Regions from separate parts of the Homo sapiens genome. Here region 1 is linked to region 2. Evidence: promoter capture Hi-C in human tissues and cell types (Jung and others, 2019). All regions are on one chromosome and are shown on one strand. The core of a region is centred on a gene start or on the middle of the fragment in contact, and the rest is flanking DNA. Distances in the headings are between cores, read along the strand shown.

Region 1 (2,700 bases), core at 143-2,642, 430 kb before region 2:
CCTGCCAGGAGCAAAGCCTGGCACAGGTGAGAATGAATCACAGAAATCAGAGGAATACTGGAGCTGTAAAAGGCCTATGTGCTTTAGAGGTAACCAAGCCCTATTTCATCATTGTATAGATGAAGAAATGAGTCTCTTAGGAAAGGAGATTGACTTTTGAAAGTTACTTAACTGGTAGAGCAAAGTAAGTCTTAGAATCCCAATATTCTGGTGCCGATTCCAAGGCTTTTTTTCTGCTGCAGAACCTAAATTATGTATTTATATTCATTAAGTTTTAATTAACTTACTTATTTCATTTTTGTGTGTAAAGGATATTCTTTAAAAGTTCAGTTTGCGATTATCTCTCCTTGAAGGTCAAGGAAATCCGACTCAAGGTGAGCATCAAATGTATGTCTATGTTTTTTAAGAAAGTAAAAGATTTACTTAAAGGAATTTGCTGTAATTCCTAAGTCCTGTTATTTCCATATACTATATTGCTAAGGGAGTAATGAGGAAAACAACAAGGAATAAGATAAAAGCCCCACATATGAAAAGAGGGGACAGGGGTAATGTTATAAGAAAACCCACAGCCAAAGTCTAGGCTACAACAGACATACATCCTGTCCTCAGGAATAGGTTTCAGATCTAACTCCAGTTTCTGGCTTTCCTGTAGATACACACTCAAATACAGGCCCAGGTGGGCTGAAGGCCACAGAGAATGTCTAAGGTCTGTCCACCGCCATGACCTTTCAGTTATGTGTTATATTAATTTAGTAGGGCTGCTCTTATAAAGTTCCACAAACCTGGTGGCTTAAACAACAGAAACTTATTGTCTCACATTTCTGAGGCTAGAAGTCCAAGATCAAGGTGTCAGCAAGGTTGGTTCCTTCTGAGGGCCATGAGCAACCTCTATACTATGCCTGTCTCCTAGCTTTTGGTGGTTTTCTGGCAATCTTTGGCATTTCTTGACTTGTAGACTCATCACCCTTGCATTAATCAGCTCAAGCTGCCAGAACAAAATACTACAGACTGGGTGGCTTAAACCCCAGAAATAAATTTCTCACAGATCTGGAGACTGAAAAGTCTCAAGATCAAGGTACGGGTTGATTCCAGTTCTAGTGTGGGCTGTATTCTTCATTTGTAGATGGCTGCCATCTCATTGTGTCTTCACATGGTAGTGAAATGGTTGTGGGGCAGGGAATGAGAGAGAGAGAGGGAGAAAGAGAGAGAGCCCTTTTTATAGTGTCTCTTCTTTTCAGGACACAGATCCTTAAAAGAACTAAGGAGGCATGAATACTGAGACATCACCTAAACTGTCAGATGTCCTGGTCCCAGGAGAGGGTCCCAGGAGAAATTCAATTGGGTCAAAATTCAAATGTTAAAATTCTACCTTGCGGTAGAATTGCAGATGTAATTAATTGGGGATTAGAAATGCAGTTGTTTACAGATGTAATTAGTTAAGGATTAGGGCCCCACCCTTATGAACTCTTATAATCTTCATTACTTCCATGTAGGACCTATCTCCAAATACAGTCACCTCAAAGGTTAGGGCTTCAGCGTAAAAATTGTAGGGGTATACAATGCAACACATAGCAACTCTGATCTCTGCCTTTGCGTTCACATGGCATTCTTCCAGTGTGCATGTCTATCTCTGTGTCTAAATCGCCTCCTTTTTGTAAGGACTCCAGTCCTATTGAATTATTGGCCCACTTTAATCTTAACTAATTACATCTGCAAACAACCCCATTTCCAAATAAGGTCACATTCTGAAGTACTGCAAGGTAGAGTTTTAACATTTGAATTTTGACCCATAGCATGTATATACCCTCTCCTGGTACCAGGACATTCATCAGTTTAGGTGGGGTCTCAGTATTCACTCCTCCATAACAGACCCTGAAACAAAACTTTGCGTGCATGAAGTTATTTGGGAAACACAGGAACTTGAGCAGGGAGTGGGGAAGAGGGCATGATTAAGTCTGCCTCCACAATGGTCACATGGAGAATCCCATTAGTCCCATGGGGAAAATACAGGGAACATTATCCCTCCAGGGAGGAAAAGGAGCAGGGATATTTAAACACCAATTTATTTGTCTGTTGGTGGCCAGTGCCTGTTGTGTCCTCTCTCCCCCTCTTTTTCTTTCTTCATTGTTTGCTTTAGCCTTCTCCAACTCTCTCTGGGGAGAATCCATATTCATGAGCAAAGACACAAATCACCTTCATGCAGCTCTACTCCTGCTCCCTCTGAGTACTAATCTGGATTCCTACCAGTCTTCAGTTGTCATATTCAGGATAATACTTAGAAACATTCATGTTAAACCAGATTCTCTTCTAAGTCTCACATCTGGCATCATAAAATCACCTGTAGGAGAGCCCTACTCTGGATACTAAGCTATGTGTTCCCAACTTAGAATCTTACTCTGGGAACTTGCATGGAATCTGTCTACATTCTTTATCTGCCACTAAAACAGAAAAACAAGCATAACAGATATGAAAAGTATAGATAATTTCCTTATTTACAGTATTTAGCAATCTTAATTTATGTTTATGTCTCATCAGTGAACCCCTGCTAATAAAGATTCAATTTTTGCTTAAATTATTTTGGTCCTAGACTGTGGCTTTCCAGGCCATGTCTAATATCCTTTTGTTCCTAGAACATTTGGTCCATGAACATGACTGTAATAAAAGCAAAACAATCAATCCCAAACCCTCTATCAAGCTTTA
Region 2 (2,700 bases), core at 132-2,631:
TTTCTCTCTGCACACAAACTTCCCCTTCCCGGCCTTCCCACAGCCCTGGCGATTTCCCACGCGGGGCGGGCCGGGCCGGGGGCGCGGGGCAGGGGAATACTGTCGTGCCCGGAGCGCCGCGCTCACCTAGGATGGTGAGGAGGCGGGCCCACAGCCTCCCGCCTCCGTCCGCCGCGCGCCCCGCCCGCCCGGCCGCTTCCGCCCCGTCTGCTCCCCGCCCCCGCCGACCCTCCGGCTCGGCGCTGACCCCGCGCCCTCCGAGCCGCCGCGGGAACTGCAGGGCCGCCCGGCCGCCTCCTCCCTCTCCCGCCCCACAATCCCGCGGATCCGCTCCCCGGGGCGCGGAGGCGGGGAGGGAGGGGCTGCCGGGGAGAGCGTCAAGGACTCGGCTCCGGGCCGTCCGCTTCTTGGGGCTCCGCTCTGGGCGTGGGGCAGTGGAGCTGGACTCCCTTCCCCGCCGCCCCCGGGCCCCGCGGGGGTCTGCAGATCCCGCTTCCTCTGCCCCAGTCCTCCAAGTTTGCGTGCTTTCCCACAGAACTGGCGCAGGCAGGGGCCCCTTCGCTGGGGTGGCGAGGCCAGGCGCGCATCTCCGCCTCGCCCCCATTCATCCCGCCAAGGTGAAGCGCAGGGAAAAGGGGCGCCCCCGCTTCGCCCGCAACGTGCGTCGCTCCGGAACCCAAACAATGACTCCCCTGCCTGCCGCGCCCGGCCCTCCGCCCGCCCCACCGGCGCGCGGGGGGCACCGCCCGCGGGGCTGCCCCTGCCTGACCCCATTGTTGCCCGGCGCGGGCGATGCCCGGCGCCCAGGGGCGGTCCCCGCGAGCTGCCCCACAGTCCCGGCCGGCTCCGCCCACACCTTTCCAAGTTCGCTGGCGGGCGAGCCGCGGGGACGACCCGGGCGACAGCCCCCTCCCTCCACTGCGCGCCCCCACCCGGGCGGGTGCGGCGAGGGGTGGGGGCCCAAGCGGGCTGCACGCTTTTTGGGTCCCCGAATTCTCCTAAGCCTGTCTGGCGCGCTCTGACACAAAAGAGGAGACTTTCTCGCGGCTCGGCGCGAGTCCTTGCCCAGCGAGTTGCTCTCCAGGGGTCCCTCCCGCCGCAAGCCCCCGCGGGCCCCCTCGGCCGACGACTCCCCGAGCTCCCAGGGCCATGTGTGGGTTATTTGGGGTGCCGCAGCAAAGTGGTGCAGGTGAAAGGGAAGCGCTGCCGAGGCCCGGGGCCGGAGGGCGGGGGCAGGGGTGGGGCGGGGTGGGGCGGGGTGGAGGCGCCGCGGACCCAGCCCGGCGGTCCGGGCGGGGAGGCGAGGGCCGGGCAGTGGGTGTTGCCTTCTACCTCTGCGAGCGGGGAGGGGTTAGTTTCCCACAGGGGATTTCAACCATCACACTCAGAGCCCGCCTCCTAATCCTCGGGCGGAGCGGCTCGGGGGCCCCATTTTATGGCAATAAAGCGACTTAGCGCCTGCTGAGCGAGCCCCTCCCCGCCGCCGCCCCCGCCCTCGGCCCCACCCCGGGGCTCGCCGGCAGCGGCGGGGCTTTGTTTCTGGGGAGGAGGACCCGGAGCTCTTTTGTTTGGGGGTTTCTTGTTTTCGGCCCCCCCCCTCACAGCACCCCACCCCACCCCACCCCAAGCGCCTCTCCGGTTTCCTGAGCTGCGGGCTGCGAGGGAGGAGAAGCGGCGTCCTGCAACCCCCTCGGCTGGGCCCCGGGGTAATTCGATGCGGGCCTGGCGAGGCTCCCCACACTAGACCGGGGCTCGCAACTCGGCAGCCTCCACCCACCGGCCCACCCTACATTTAGCGCATCATGTGATCCGGGTAAGTCATTTGCAAGTACAACAGTTCCCCGGGTTGCCCCCCATTCATTTCCTGAGAACTGCAGAGAGCCGCTGAGAGGCTCTGCGTGTGCGTGTGCGCGGGTGACGCCGTGTGTGTGCGAGTGTGTGTGTGTGTGTGCGCGCGCGCGTGTGAGAGAGAGAAAGGGAGAGAGAGAGGGGGACTCTGTGTGAGGGAAAGAAAACAATTTCTCCTGCTCTGCAGCTTCTGTTCAGGTCTGTGCCGATTCCGTTTCTTATCAAAATAAACAACCCCCTCCTCTTTTTTTTTTTTTTTTGCCATCCCAAATCAGACCGTATTCTCTTAACGTGTTTTATTTTCCTTCTGTCATCTGCTCAAGTTAAATCATTTTGGTTGGTCTGTGTTCTTAAAGGGGGAAAGTGCTGGGAAGCGGGAGGGGGCCGGGGAAGGGCGATGCTGTTGCAAAGCAAGTAGCGTCGGTCGGATTCGTGGAGAAGAAAGAAGGAGGTTTCTTCCCCACCTCCCCTAATTTTTTTTTTCCAGAAGAAGTTATCAAGTAACGTGAATTAAGCAAGTGTTTTTCTACCCCTAGTGGAATTGTTGGTTGCAGTGTTTGCCTGACAGTTGCCAAGGATGTGAAATAAAACCCCAGGGCTGAACTTGGGGGGGAGGGGGGGCTCGTGGAAGTAGTTGGCCCCCCGGCCTCGAGCGGGGTGGATGAATAGCTCCGCACCGGGACCGTGTGGGCTGTGTGTGCGCGCTGGAGAGAGTGGAGGGGAAGGGGTTAAGGCGGAGATGACACTGCTGGCATGAATAGTGCTCCTGGTGCTACATTCATTATTGTCTCTGGTCGTAATGATGTGTAACTGTCACTTGCTACAGTGCCTGGTCCATGCAAGTAGCCAGGG

The links. Contacts are between HindIII fragments. The study calls those that stand out against the background at their distance.
Region 1: a contact is called between a fragment that was not itself captured here and the fragment with the promoter of KLF12 in region 2, in 1 of the 25 tissues and cell types used here (dorsolateral prefrontal cortex).

The regions. Positions count from the first base shown.
Region 1 is chr13:74,560,809-74,563,508 of GRCh38, reverse strand. No RefSeq gene overlaps it. Among named protein-coding and RNA genes, the nearest start is that of LINC00347, 9.3 kb to the right of the region's middle. The HindIII fragment of the contact is 5,000 bases long and covers 1-2,700 here.
Region 2 is chr13:74,133,085-74,135,784 of GRCh38, reverse strand. It overlaps KLF12 (KLF transcription factor 12), which reads left to right and starts at 1,381. Exons shown (of 8, transcript NM_001400136.1): 1 at 1,381-1,813. RefSeq lists a silencer at 1-1,634 and an enhancer at 2,644-2,693. The HindIII fragment of the contact is 8,641 bases long and covers 1-2,700 here.